Linked DNA regions of Homo sapiens: regions 2, 3 and 4 are each linked to region 1. Evidence: promoter capture Hi-C in human tissues and cell types (Jung and others, 2019). All regions are on one chromosome and are shown on one strand. Each heading gives the region's core, a stretch centred on a gene start or on the middle of the fragment in contact. The rest is flanking DNA. Distances are from core to core; before and after follow the strand shown.

Region 1 (3,713 bases), core at 786-3,285:
ACTCAACTTCCAGTGCTCCTCTTCCACCAGCACACATACATGCACTCACTAATGGGGACAGATCAGATTTAGAATAGAGTGGAAATACCACACTGTGCACTGAGTGTCGATTATGTGCCAGGCCAGGGGATATGAAGAAGGATAAGACAAGATCACCGCTGTGAAGGAATTCACAGTCCAAAAGGGGAGATAGACAAGTCAACAGTTACACAACATGAAAAGTATGCATGGGATGCTAAGGAAGAAAAGAAAGCAGGGTCCATTCCATCTAGTCATGTCACAAAGGAACTAGGACTCCTAAGCTTTCAGGAGGATCTGTGGAGGGTAGATGGACTCTGGGGCAGGAGGACCAGGTTGGAAGGTGGTACACTAGTCCAGACAAGGAGTTACAGGGACGTGAACAAAGACCCTGGTGGGAATTTAGCATCTTTGATAGAGATGCTAAATTTGGGTTTGGAAATGTTGGATTTGGGTGCCTGTGGGGGCAAACAGTGGAATTAGCCACTGTTAATATTTGACGATTTGGGTCTAGAGTTCCAGAACAGGGGTAGGCTAGAGAGATGAAGTTGGGAGCTGCCATCATAGAGATGAGAGTTAAAGCAGGGAACTTTAATAAATGTGTCTAAAAACAGTACTGGAGAATATGAACACTGAGCCCAAGGGAATATCGAAAAGAGAAGAAAGATTAAAAAAAAAAAAGCAGGCCAAGGAAATGACTGAGAAGGAATAGCTGATACAGAGGGGAGGGAATTTCTGAAGGAGGGAGTGAATCATCAACACCATCACATGGCTTAGAAAAGTGGACCCTGGATTTGGCAATGATGGACATAATCCAGGTGGACTTTGAGCCTCCTCCTGCCCCCAGTGGCCACTGCATTCTGCAGCCCTGAACTCTACCTCTACCTCTGCTTTTCTTCTGCAAAATGAACCTCTTATATACAATTCTGTTTCCTACATCAGTTACTAAACTTTGAGGCATTTGAGCCAAGGGGACCCGTACTCGCACCAAGTTTCATCACAGGTGTCTAATGTGATTACAGGGGCAGCACGGTGCCCTGCACGGGAAAGTACTGGGGTCAGAGAGACCAGAGTTCAAATCGTGACTCTTTACCCCTGCGATCCCTTTGGTGCAAATGACTTAATCCGTCTCTGCCTCAGCTTTCTCCACTGTTAATTGGGCATAATGGACACAACAATGGTGAGGGGCTCTTGCAGGAATGAAGACTAGGATGAGGATGAGGATGAGGGATACGTCCATAAAGCCCCTGCACACCTTCCATTTCCTGAGCACTCCCAGGAAGTCTTTGCTGACCACGCCAAATTAGATTATCTTTGCTTAGCCATTAGGCCGCTGCCCTATATTGGGAGGCAAATATACCTCTCAGCTTCGGTGGCCAGGTCCCCTGGCACCCACTTAGTCCTCAGTCTGCACCTAAAAGCAAGCCTTCCGAGGGTCTTGCCTTGCAGGTGTAGCTCCCACCCCCCACGCTGGGGTGGTCCGGGGACCCTCTGTTTCCTCAGTGGTGGGGAAGGGACCCGTGGGTTCGTGGGTGCTGACCGACGAATGTGCGGAGGAGGGCGCGCCCCAGCATGGGGGGCGGGGGTGCTTCTTAGGATGGCTTGGAGGGGGGCGCCTGCAGGGCTGGACGGCGGACGGGGGACACTGCACTTTCTGATGCGGTCGGGGAAGCCGGGAGTCAGCCTACTGGAGTCCGCTGCCATCCCTGGCCAGAAGCAGCCAGCGCCACCCCAAGCTCCCCAGCCCCTCGCCCGTGCCGGGGCCGCCGGGGTCCGAGTTAGGGGAGAGTGGGGGGCGGCCACCGCTGCACCGCGCGGCCTTCGAAGGACTGCCCTGCGGCGCCGCGTTCCCCCGAGGCCACCCCCTCCCGCCGTCAACACTCCCCGGGGCGGGGGCTCACCTGTGTGGTCTGGGTCGCCTCCGAGGCCGAGTCCCTCGTTGCCAAGCCCAGCAGGCCTCGCTCCCCCGTGACTGCACCGCCGGCCCGCTCCAGCTTCCCGAGTACCCCACCTGTCTCCCCGGCTTCCTTCCGGCCCTTTGTGTTTTCTTCTCTTGCTCCGCCCCCTCGCCTGCCCGCTAAGCACTTAAGCTGGTGAAGTCACCCTACTGCCACCTGGCAGTCACTTTCGCTGTTGGTGGCAACCCAGGCTGGAACCCAGCTCTTGCCGGAACCCCTGCCCCATCCTTGAGGCTTGTCCCGACACCGAGTAGGTTCTAGTTCCTTTGTGCCTTCCAAATGACTCCCTTCCTCCAGCAATCACAGCCGCAACAGCCATGTATTGCGCCCCCGCCCTAGGCCAGGCGTGGGCATCACCTTTGCACTCCTTTCTGCAGCCGTGTGTGGTGCCCACTGTGACCTGCACTTCACAGACGGGTCATCTGAGTTGTGCAGGCCACTAAGGGAGCCTGGAGTCAACCCCAGGCCTGCTTGGCTCCCAGGCCTTCTCTTTCCATTGCTCTTTGTCGGTCCCCTGCTGCCTCCTGTCCCTCCCCAACTCTGACTTGTGGAGGGAAGCCTTTGACATGTGGGGGTACCTTTAATACCGATATCACTTGTTACCGGAGAGGGGTCCCGATCCAGACCCCAAGCGAGGGTTCTTGGACTTCTCGCAAGAAAGAATTCGGGGTGAGTCCGTAGAGTGAGAGCAAGTTTATTAAGGAAGTATAGAAAACAGGCCGGGTGCGGTGGCTCACGCCCATAATCCCAACACTTTGGGAGGCAAAGGCAGGCAGATCACTTGAGCTCAGGAGTTCAGACCAGCCTGGCCAACATGGTGAAACACTCTCTCTACTAAAAATACGAAAAGTTAGCCAGGCATGGTGCTCTATGCCTGTAATCCCAGCTACTCGGGAGGCTGAGGCAGGAGAATCGCTTGAACTCCGGAGGCAGAGGTTGCAGTGAGCCGAGATTGCGCCACTGCACTCCAGCTTGGGCGACAGAGCCAGACTCTGTCTCAAAAAAAAAAAAAACAAAAAAAAAACAAAAAACAAGAAGAACAACAACAAAAAAGAATGGCTACTCCACTGGCAGAGCAGCTGTGTGGGCTGCTTAGCTAATTATACTGGTAGTTATTTCTTGATTCTATGCTAAACAAGGGGTGGATTATTCATGAATTTTCCAGGAAAAGGGTGGGCAATTCCCGGAACTGAGGGTTCCTTCACTTTTTAGACCATATAGGGTAACTTTCTGACGTTGCCATGGCACTTGTAAACTGTCATGGCCCTGGTGGGAGGGTCTTTTATCAGGCTAATGCATTAAAATTAGCATTTAATGAGTAATGAGGACGACCAGAGGTCACTTTCATGACCATCTTGATTTTGGTGGGTCTTGGCTGGCTTCTTTACTGAGTCCTGTTTCATCAGCAAAGTCTTTGTGACCTGTACCTTGTGCCAACCTTCTATCTCATCCTGTGACTAAGAATGCTGAACCACCTGGGAAGGCAGCCCAGTAGGTTTCAGCCTTATTTTACTCAGTCCCTATTCAAGATGGAGTGGCTCTTGTTCAAACACCTCTGGACACAGTTACCCCAGCCATGGCTGACAAAGTTTTCTGGGCTGAGCTGCCAGGACTGACTGAGTGTGTTGACTTGGAGAGAGGCTGTGGATCTCCACTGAAGGCCCTCTTCATTTCTCACCTTTTCCTATTGTGCGAATTGGTCCCTGTACCTGTGGCCGCTTCCTCCTCACGCCTCCC
Region 2 (3,829 bases), core at 1,063-3,562, 580 kb before region 1:
AGATTTTAATATGCAGACACATGGTTCTCCCAGGAAGCTGAAGGGCAAAAGCATAGGTATGTCTTGGAAAGAACTCAAAGCAGGAATTAGTGCAAGGTAGAGAACTCAAGGATTTTGCCCTACTTGCAAGCTATCAAGTTAGCCTGCCTCAAGTTTCATGGCAGAAGACACAAGATTCCTGCATTAGAGACAAAGGACAATGTATCACTCATAGCAATAGTACCCAGAGTATCAGCATTTGCTCTGGTTCCCACAAGGAGACATGAATAAAGCCAGGTGGGGCTTATACACCCAGTGGGTTGTGTTACCAGTGAGAAACTCCGAGCTTAGGGAACCCAAATCTTTATAATTGTCAGTAAGTACCTGACCTTTGCTCAGAAGGGAAACATTACCTTTATCTTTATATTGGATAGTAAATAAATCTGCTGTTTGCTGCACAGGGAGAAATTATCTCTGTTCCAAAACTGTTTGCTGTGTAAACATCCCTGAAATGATATTGCAGAACAAGAGTAGCCAGTGTCACATCACAAGATGTGCAGAAATGCAAGAGATCCATGGAGAAATGTCTTCCTGTTAACAAGCAGGTGTGGAAGAAGAGCTAAGCAGAAAAAACTATAGATATCCACCATAGATAACATCTCTGGAGCTGTGGTACCTTCTACATAGACTAAGGCAATAAGTTTAGCACTTGTTACAAATGAATTCAGGGAATATTTATTAATTTGTATTTTAGAAAACATTTACCATTAGATTGTTTTTCTTAAGAAAAATATTGATATCTCTAAAAGGTAATTTTGAAAACAATATTAATGTGTCACAATAATCTATATGAAGGAGAACAATTTAATTCCTGGCAATGATGAATTTGAAATAATTTTTTCATGGACTCTCATTTTTTATTTTCTGTTTCTGTTTCTTAAAGAAATATTGTAGCAAAGGGGAAAGTAGGGTATTGTTTGATGTTTTTCCTGCTTGAGGGAATCTGAAGTATTCTGATTCTGTATGAATAAAAAAAATTGGAACACTTACAGATACTTTTTAAAAATTCTAAGGCAGAACTAAGGGGATTGAATACCCTGGGAACTCTTGATAACCATTTCAGATATTTTTATTATATTTATACATGCTTTTGAAATTCTGGTTAGCCACAATTCTGTGGATGATGAAGTCATAGAGTCTTAGGAGATGAATCACTAATCTAGGCTTACTGCTACCAGTTTAAACTTACTCTATAATTTCTCTCTGACTGATTGTTGTAGAATGGTAGCTTGTAAGTAAACCAGTGATTTATTTGTTTATTGTATTCAAATGATGAATTTGAAATAATTTCATTAATGGCCTCTCATTTTTAATTTTCTGTTTCTGTTCCTTAAAGAGAAACTGTAGTAAAGGGGCAAGTAGGGTATTGTTTGATGTTTTTCCTGCTTAAGGGCAAACAACTTGCTCATATGTAATTTGTCTTAAGTTGTTGAAGCCATAAACTATTGGGCTTGAATTAGTTTAACTCACTTTATAGAAAATTTAGCATACCAATTAAGCACTTAAATAGTAAATTAAGAAAATGGTCCTCAAATCAATTACAATACCAGGATTTTAGATCTCAGTGAAGGATGAGTATTTAGAAGCTTCCTTCCCTCTAAATCAGTGTTAATACTTTTTTTGTCTGTCTCTGAAATTTAAGAAAGATAATCCCTGTTTTTTCCTTGTTTCTCCCATTTCTAACCCAAGAGAAAATGAAATGATTTCAGTCATATTTAGCAGTAGAGTTAATCTACTAGCAAATCTCGATCTCCTGACCTCGTGATCTGCCCGCCTCGGCCACCCAAAGTGCTGGGATTACAGGCATGAGCCACCGTGCCCAGCAATCTACTAGCAAATCTAAGTGGAACAAATTACACACTGTTTTTCATGTGAGAAAATATGTTCTTAAGCTAGAGGAATATTTCAATAACAAATATCCATTAGAATCTACATGCAAGACACTAGCTTATCTAATGAGAAAAGTCAGAGAAGTAAAACAGCAAAACAACTTCACATTCTTTAATGTTCATTCAGAATATTAAATGCCATTAATTGACCATCATTATTATAAAATTTACTATTTAGATAAGTGAGTTTTAGTACAGTGCTATTTAAAGTATGGAACTGTTACTGGTGTGTGATCAGTACAGAAATTGAGACTAAGCATTTAGAAACCTAGAGCAATTTGACGTAGCAATCTTCTGTCTGTTGAATCTAATAACAAAAAAAATTTTTTCAATTTTGCATATCTTTTTAAAATTTAATTTGTCAAGGAATTCATTTTTAGCATATTTTACAAAAACATCATTCTCCTATGGAGACTATTTGGAAATACAAATAAGAAAACTGGTTCTTACCACAGATAGTTTTAGAAACCTGTTTTAGTGTAAAGCCATCATTTAGTATAAAGTCATCTATTATTACTGTTACTCTGAAGTGGTTACTGAGCATTACAACAGTAGGTAGGATTATAAGTTGTTTACTAAATATGCTAGATTTATTAACTCATGTATATATTTATTGAGAAACCAAAATATTTGAAGTACTTGATGAAGTTGATGTGCTAACCATTGCCTGTCTGCCCATATTCCCTCTTGGAAATATTACAGGATTCTGCTCACTTCTGACTCCAGCCTCAGCATGCTGTACCATGGTGGGCTAATATTAGTTAGTCTAATAATATGTGAGTCTAATATTATGTCACCCAAGAATCTGGAATTGGGACACTGAGAGACTGAGTGATTAGGTCATAGTAGTCACATGAACTGAAATGTCACCAGTTGTTACAACACCAAACCCAACGCCACATGTAGACTGATGTTAGAGAACACAGAACATGAGTAAGCAGGGGTTCTGAGATAGAATAAGGGGGAAGGGGGCAAATGGCAAACATGCAAGAAACAGAGAGAGAGCCCATCAAAATATAAGTTAGGTCCTGTCACTCCTCGGCTCAAATCCTGCCTTGTCTTATGTCATACGGAGTAAAAGTCAGTCTTCACAACTGACTACAGGCTGTAAGGAATCTTTCCTCCATCTCTCTGACTTCATTTTCCACCACGCTCTTTGACACTCATTCCAGTTTAGTCATCCAACCTTGTTTTTCCCTGAAGCCAGGCACATTATTGCCTCAGGGCCTTTGTACTTGCTCTTCTGCTTGGTATGCTCATCCGCAGTTTCCTGCCTGGTTGGCTCCCTCACCCTCCTTCAGAGTTTTGTTCAAACATCATCTTCTAGGCGAGGCCTGCCCTGAGCACCCTATTTAAAATTGCAATCCCGGCCGGGCACAGTGGCTCACGCCTGTAATCCCAGCATTTTGGGAGGCCAAGGTGGGTGGATTACTTGAGGTCCGGAGTTCGAGACCAGCCTGGCCAATATGGTGAAACCCTGTCTCTACAAAAATAACAAAAATTAGCTGGGCCTGGTGGTGGGCACCTGTAATCTCAGCTGCTTGGGAGGCTGAGGCAGGAGAATCACTTGAATCAGGGAGGCGAGGTTGCAGTGAGCCGAGATTGCGCCACAGCACTCCAGCCTGGGTGACACAGAGAGACTCTCTCTCAAAAAAATAAAATAAAATTGTAATCTTGGCCAGGAGCAATGGCTCACACCTGTAATCCCAGCACTGTGGGAGGCCAAGGCGGGTGGATCACTTGAGTACAGAATTTGGAGACCAGCCTGTGCAACACAGCAAAACTCCATCTCTACAAAAAATAGAAAAATTAGCTGGGCGCGGTGGTATATGCCTGTGGTCCCAGCCACTCTGGGGGCTGAAGTGGGAGGACTGCTTCAGCCCAGGAGGCAGAGATTGCAG
Region 3 (3,728 bases), core at 400-2,899, 520 kb before region 1:
CAAGGTTGCTGTTACTTCCACCTAAGGGATCACTTCTTTTGCCTTGTTACTATGCCAATCACTATTTTTATATGCTTATTTGCTGTGGCTGCATTATTGTGGATGCTGGCATTGAAATATGAGATTTATGAGAGTTCTAATGTATCTTCATTTTTATAACTATTACCAATTTTTGACTTTTATATTTGGAAAATATAACTTAAAAAGTTTAAGAAAACCAGAGCATTGCAGAGGTCATGGATACATGTCAATTTCTTAGTTTCATCAATTAAAGGAAGGAATGTTCGTGAGAGAGTTTTTCAAAAGGCTAATGCCTTGCTTTCTAAGACTGTTAAAGCACAGGTTTAGCAGAAAGTTTAGTTTCCAGAAAGTCATAGGAATAATTGGTTGAGAAATAAGGGAAGGGAGAAAAACCCAACACAATCTACTGATTTAAAAAATGATACCCAAATTTTATTTGTTTGTAAATGTTTAAGTGTATTATTTCATTTAAACATCAGAAATCATTTATTTTTATAGAAAGGGAACAGAGATCCATATAAATTAAATGAATTGTACAAGGCCATATAACTAGGGAAGTGGTAAAAGCAAGGCCAGATTTCTCCCTCTTCCCAGCTCCTCCCTGAGTCTCCTATTTTCCTCTTCCTCATTGTTTGGATGAGATCATGCTGACCTAATTACAAATGAGTGCATCTTGGAAAACATTCTTGAATGACTGTCAGACCATGATTTGAGATTAACTGTAAGTATTTTGTGAATTACCACAGACGAGTAAAATAATTTAGTGAGATATTATCCATTTGCTTACATTTAGCCAAACAAAAGAATATTTTTGCATGGAATACAGAGTATACCCCAGAGAAAATGCATATAGCATCAACATTGTACTTGGACCTCTTACTGAAGAGAGAAGGACGACTGTCCAGGGCAGTTGTCAGCTTATGCATAGCCATCCTGTTATGAGACCAGTGAGGAAGGAATTCCCATCCAGATTTCACTTACTACCAAAACACTAGTAGATTACACTTGAAATATACATAATTTTGAAACACAAATTGAAATAAATAAGTCATGATTAATATGTGTAATGTGCTAATCTAAGAATGAATGAAACATTTATAGAACATCTATTTAAGTAGTACAGTGATGTTGGCTCAGTTATCTAATCACAAGGACACTTTATAAAGGTAGTTTTTCTGGCCTTTACCGCTGGAAATTTTGATTGAATGCCCTTGGGATAGGGACCCAGATTGTGTATTTTAGAAGCATCTCAGTTGATTCTGGAGCACGTTCAAGTTTGAGAACCAGTGGGTTAAACCCTGACTTTGGTGGACCTTGAATGCTTAGTATAGAGTTCTGGATTTTATCCAGTGGTCAGTCACTTATGTGTTCCTTAATTATTCAGTAGATATTATTGGGTATATGTTATATTTCCAGCATTGGGAATATAAATGTTAAGACAGCCCACGCCTTCCAGTAGCAGGGAGAGTTAGACAGGAACCTCTGTGGGAACAGAGGAGAGGCATTAAATTCAGCAGTGTGAAGGGATTTTCAGGAAAGATATTAAAAGATATCTCAGCCAGCTCAGAAGGAGCTTATATGAGTTGCCCAACAAAGAAAGGAGATATAGGTTTTCCCAACAGTGGGATCAGTAATGAAAAGTCTTGAGAATGGCAGCCTGAGTATAGTGGTTTTGTATAACTAAAGTGTAGGGTGTATGATGGGTAAGGGAGCGGGTACAGCATCCCATGAGGGGATGATAGCTATAGAGACAGGACAGGCTGTAGGAGTTTTAAAATATCATAGGAGTTTGAATTTCATCCTGTAAGTGGGAGGAGCCATATTTGGCTTTTAATCAAGGTGGTTTCTTAGGAAGTTCACTCTGATATCAGTGTGGAGAAAAGATTCAGTGAGGTGAGACTAGAAACCACTTAGGCTATTATTGCATAATCTAGGCAAGAAATTAAGATCTGAAGACACAGCAGTGAGGGAGTGAGGGTGATGAGATCTGGATGAATTTTGTTTTCTTTTTTTCTTTTTCTTTTTTTTTTTTTTCCTGAGACTCTGTCTCCCAGGCTGGAGCGGCGGTGGCGTGATCACAGCTTACTGCAACCTCCACCTCCCAGGTTCCAGCAATTCCCCTGCCTCAGCCTCCCTCTTAGTAGGTGGGATTACAGGCACGCACCACCATGCCTGGCTAATTTTTTGTATTTTTAGTAGAGATGGAGTTTCACCATGTTGGCTAGGCTGGTCTTGAACTCCTCATCTTAAGTGATCCTCCCGCCTCGGCCTCCCAAATGACTCTAAATCAAAACTTCTAAGAAATAAAAGATTTAAACAAAAATGAGGTTATGGGACAATGGGGTATTTTACCTAGCAGTAATTAATCTTCACTCACAGAGGCTGTGCTTACTTAGTATTTAGCACCTAGAGAAGCTAATTTTTAACATCCTCTTATATATGAAAAAATCATTTTCAATTATCATGAAACTAGTTATAGTACTAATGGCCAGGAAAAAAATGCAGACAGTGAAAATATTCTTCTATTGAAATTGTATTTTATAACTGTCAGTAAAAAATAAATAATAAAATCAACATTATAATACAAAAATAGACAATGGGTTAATAATTTGAAGTTACATTGATCATTTTTTTAAAAAGGAAAAATGTTTTTATATATTGATCTGTCACAGTGGTGAATAGTATAGCTTTCGTTTTTGAAAACTTATCAATAGCTTCTTCAGAATTGATCTTTCGATATTGGGGCTTAGTACATCATAGCCAGATTTATCAATCTGTCTACTCTTACTTGATGGAAGAACACTATCTTTAAATTTTAATTTTGAAAGTTTTTTTCATGAAGCAACTGCTACACAGAGAAAATCTTCAGCATAAGGATAAGTTCAGCAGAGATTCTTAAAATTCCATCCTCCAGTAAATTCCAGAAATTGCCATACTTTCCTTGCCTTTGTTTTTGAAGGATCAAGTCTAATGATTTTTCAGTGTCTTCGCAGTTAAAATATTTTAAACACAAGCTCAAAATCGCATATAATGACAGAATTGAGGCAACTCCAAATCCTTTCATTGACTTTAAAAATCACTGTACCATTGTTGTTTATTTCTAATATGCTTAAATATAATAATATATTGTACCACAGGGTTGGAGGCACACATTTCGCTGAAGTGAGCTTGAATAATTTCAGATTGCTACCAACTTTCTCTTGAAAGGAACATGTGTAGTGGAATCCACCTGTATCAGGGGAGACTTTAAGTAGAAGACTGTAACTGGGAGCTTTCCTAATTAAGTCTTACATGAAGTGCGGTATTTATTAAAGTATAAGTCATAAAATGTGCTTACTTAAAGCTTACATGTGTGTTATTAAAACTCAACAGTTGTTTATAGCTTAGACCAACTATTTTTCAGGGAGGAGTGCTTTTATAACTGATGTTTATTATTGCTGGGGCATGATGATAATAGAAAGCCGACCAACTTGGTTTTATTTTTGTTTCCAAATTGCCTACAGACAATACACCCACTTATTGCCTACTCTTGGGGAGGTGAGCAGCACTTTCACCACCCTTCCCTTGATGTACATGAGCAGAGTGAAAAGGATTAACTATAGGGAGACCACAAAAAACACTGATTGGAATTCCAGAAATAGGGTGTGATGAAGGCCTGAATTTGGTTATTTAGGAGACAACAGGAATGTAAAGGAAGCGATAGATTT
Region 4 (3,861 bases), core at 1,269-3,768, 560 kb before region 1:
AGAGTATATTTAACGCAACCACCTTGTGCTTTGGTCTGTGTAGTCTAGAATGTGAGCAGTTTAAGCAGAAGGATAGTAGCATATTCATCTTTATGTTTCTGAACAGGACCACAGTGTAGTAAGAGTTCAGTGACATTAATTTAAATGAAATCAATCTATCAGTGATGTTAGGTTAAAATGAGGCAAAACTGTAAAACAGTGAGACCAGATTTCTTACATGACGCTTATGCCAGTTACAGATGAGATACTTCACAGATTCTGAATAATGGCAGTATTGAATGTATACTTTCCCATGATGAATTAAAGAAGAAAATACTGTCTAGATGTAGTGTGTGATTTTTAAAATAAGTTTAAAAATTAGCCAAAATACTGGCATCGCTCTGTTTAGTAGGATTACAGAAGCACTTTGTTTTAAACTTCTTTGTACTTTTTGTGATTTCCAAGTTTTCTGATAAGACATGAATTGCTTTTAGAATTTAAAAAATCCTATTGATAAAATTTAAGTCAGTTTTATTACTCTGTGATCATGTGGGGATCATAATATAACATGATACATTAGAAGCCTTTTTACTTGTAGTTTTCCTTGTTACTTAGTAGTAGTAAGATTATATATCACAGATGGATACATTTTGGCTTCAACAAATATGGTTTCATTTATTGAGTAACTGCCATAGGTGGAGCACTGTGCTGTAATGATAGCACATTTTTGATAGAATTGGAACCCAAGATATGTATTTGATCTTATGATCTATTATTCTTGTTTGTTTTAAATTTAACAATTTAATTGGGCAAAAAAAACATTTATTGAACTGGGTAGCACCCAGGACCGAAAGTGATTTAGAATGCTTCTTAGAATGTTCTTAACTTTACACTTAAAAAATTAAATTCCACAAGTGTAACTATTAAAACATTTATCAGATCTACCTAAATAAATCATGTAGTCTGTTTTCATGAAAAACACAACTTTGGTTTTTAGGAATATCAGATAAGGAACACCAAAGTTGTATAGCTCACATCCTGTGAGCCTTCTGGATCACTGATGTTGCTACTGCTCCTCAGTCCCCATCTTTGGGGCCTCCGTGTATTCAAATTCCTATGCCAGATTGCCCAGGGAACCTGGTGCTGATACCCTGGTAGCCCAAAAAGGCTACTTGCCTTCTACTTCCACTTACGCAGACCCCTGCCTCCTTACCCTTCTGCTAGGAACATATCTATAACTATATAAATTCATGTAATTTTGACATTATTTTTTAAAATGGCAATTTGGGCAGTAAATAGCAGAATTAAGTAGTGTCTTAATATAAATGGTTTGCATTACCTGAATACACTATTCCTTGTAGTAATTATCTGTACTACCCAGAGCACATTGCATGTGACTCCTGTTGGGCTAATTTTCAGTAGCAAAAATGAATTTGTAAAATAATGTAGGTTTTAAGGCTTTGGTAATAATAAGTTCTTATTTCACCTCTTTCATTTACTCAAAATTACGTCTTCTGAGATCTTTTGGGATCGAAGTTATGGAGGAAATGAACAACTTTAGGACAAACTAGCTTATTTAAGAGGAAGGCTTTAAACTAGGTCTTTAGGAGTGGCTCAGAAATTGCAGAACAGTTTACTTTGATCTGGGAAAGGTCTCACATTCTGGAATAAAATAGAAATTAGAGACTTTAGAGAAAAAAATATTGATTCTATCTCCTTGAAATATGAAGAATAATAGATGCAATATAATGTAGTACCACGGTATCAGATATGAAATTCTTGAAAGTATTTGGAAAGATAAGACAAAGGAAGTTGTATTTAGTTAAAAATCAGGTTTATAATTCATGAGGATGAATCAAATCATCTCCCACTTCTGCAGTGTACTAGACTGAAACTCCTCCCCCACACATCCCTCTCCTACTCCATTCAGGAGCTTCTGCTCCTCTCTCTGTGAGACAGTAAGAAAGTACCCAATTATGTGTGGCTCTTGAGGCTTATTTTGTTTGAAAAGTGTGAATGAGAACCAGGAGTGGGCCAAGCTAGTCTGTAAGTGACCCTTGACTCCAATAAGCTTGAGGAATGGGATTTAATAGGTACTCTCAAGTTAGGTTTTTAGTATGCATTTAATACCTAATCGGTACTATATTCTATAGTGATAATCAGACTAAATTGTGTGTTTTTGCTAATACCTATTTAGTAGATACAGAAAGAGTACTTTAGTAATTTTAGGCTTTGAATGCTTATATCTTTTGAGTGGGCCTGCTCATTTCTCCTCTGAGTGGGAGATAATGAATCTTGTGTTGACCTGTCACAGTGAAACTCTTATTTGCCATTGGTTATACTTAGGACTGATGGTGGAGTGGATTAAGAAGCAAAACCCAAAAAACTGATGAATCCTAGAAACCTGAATCTAGAGGTTTGGAACTTGATGAGCAGGCACGGTAAGTCTTGATGGTAGTGCAGCCTGCGAGTGAAAGAGGCTAACAACCTTTATGTGAGGTGTAATAATCTAGTTATATCTTAATTCATCTTCACATTTCTGTCTAACGCCATGTCTGGCCAGTGGTAACTGCTGTATAAATATTTGTTTAAATTACTGAGTGGAGCATAAGCTTTCAAGGTGTTTAGAGTTTGGTTAGGAGACAGAATGAACATAGAATTCTGTTCTCTCTGAAACCAGTAATATTTTCTAGAAGAAAGGTGTATATGGGCTTAAAAGTGAGAGCCGGGACTTTGGATTTGGGCACACATGGAAAGGTATTTTTTGCTGTCTGTGAGAATCAACAAGTTTAGGGAAAAGAGCGAGTGATACATTTGAGTAGGGTAGAGAAAAGGCCTGTGAAGATCTTAACTAAAGGGATGTTTGTTAGGGAACAAGTGAGAAAGCTGAATCATTGGGTTGGAGATCATACTGTGAATGGCCTGTGAAATCTAGGAGGAGAGTTTTTGAATATTGGAATGCTTTTAACAAAATGGCATTTTGGAGAGGTTAGTGTGGCAATAGTATGTAGGCGAGAACACAAGTCATAGCTACCTTTATTGGCTAGAAAACAGCCTCTGAGGTTTGTGTCCACCTCTTCTGCCCTGAAGTATTCAAACCAAAGTATTGAATTCAAACCAAACTATTGAGTCCACAGTGATACTCTTTCCATTTCATACCAACTACTTATAATATGTTGCATGAAAACCATCACATCACATCAAGCTAAATGATTAAAGATTAGGCCATTTACCTATGAAGGAAATAATAGATATCATTTTGGTTTCAAGATTGTTTAGTTCCTCTTAAAAAACATTCACATTGTTTAAAAATGTCATTTTGATCTTATTAATGTTATTGTAAGGATAATCCCAAACAGGATTCTGCAACCTTGACATTTGGGTCAGATAACTCTTTGTTGTGGGTGCTATCCTGTGTGTTGTAGGATGTCCAGCAGCATCCCTGGCCAATCAAAAATGTCTCCAGATGTTGCCAGGTGTCCCTTTGGGGCAAAATTACCACAGGTTAAGAACCATTGCCTTAAAGGATACTTATGGTATGGTGTCAACATGACCAGAAATAACTAGTACTGTATTGCAGTAATAAGTTTCGTATTCTAGTTACTTTGCTCCATTTACATTTTCTAAGTCAAAAATAGTGCTTGATATGGTTTGGCTGTGTGTCCCCACCCAAATCTCATCTTGAATTGTACTCCCATAAGCCCCACGTGTTGTGGGAGGGACCTGGTGGGAGATAATTGACTCATGGGGCGTTTTCCCCTATACTGTTCTCTAGATGGTGAGTTAACTCTCGCAAGATCTGATAGTTTTATCAGAGGTTTCCGCTTTTGTGTCTTCCTCATTCTCCCTTTGCCTGCTGCAATCCATGTAAGATGTGACTTG

Evidence for each region. The method cuts DNA at HindIII sites, captures the fragments that hold promoters and counts their contacts. A contact is called where the count stands out against the background at its distance.
Region 2: a fragment that was not itself captured here is called in contact with the fragment with the promoter of OCIAD2 in region 1 in 2 of the 25 tissues and cell types used here (aorta and lymphoblastoid cells).
Region 3: a contact is called between a fragment that was not itself captured here and the fragment with the promoter of OCIAD2 in region 1, in 4 of the 25 tissues and cell types used here (dorsolateral prefrontal cortex, liver, lymphoblastoid cells and 1 more).
Region 4: a fragment that was not itself captured here is called in contact with the fragment with the promoter of OCIAD2 in region 1 in 2 of the 25 tissues and cell types used here (aorta and dorsolateral prefrontal cortex).

The regions. Positions count from the first base shown.
Region 1 is chr4:48,904,739-48,908,451 of GRCh38, forward strand. It overlaps OCIAD2 (OCIA domain containing 2), which reads right to left and starts at 2,036. Exons shown (of 7, transcript NM_001014446.3): 1 at 1,920-2,036. RefSeq lists a silencer at 1,714-1,973 and an enhancer at 2,264-2,343. The HindIII fragment of the contact is 7,902 bases long and covers 114-3,713 here.
Region 2 is chr4:48,329,007-48,332,835 of GRCh38, forward strand. No RefSeq gene overlaps it. Among named protein-coding and RNA genes, the nearest start is that of SLAIN2, 11 kb to the right of the region's middle. The HindIII fragment of the contact is 3,646 bases long and covers 490-3,829 here.
Region 3 is chr4:48,388,044-48,391,771 of GRCh38, forward strand. All of the region lies in intron 6 of SLAIN2 (SLAIN motif family member 2), which reads left to right. Among named protein-coding and RNA genes, the nearest start is that of SLAIN2, 48 kb to the left of the region's middle. The HindIII fragment of the contact is 5,909 bases long and covers 1-3,728 here.
Region 4 is chr4:48,349,175-48,353,035 of GRCh38, forward strand. All of the region lies in intron 1 of SLAIN2 (SLAIN motif family member 2), which reads left to right. Among named protein-coding and RNA genes, the nearest start is that of SLAIN2, 9.6 kb to the left of the region's middle. The HindIII fragment of the contact is 3,427 bases long and covers 806-3,861 here.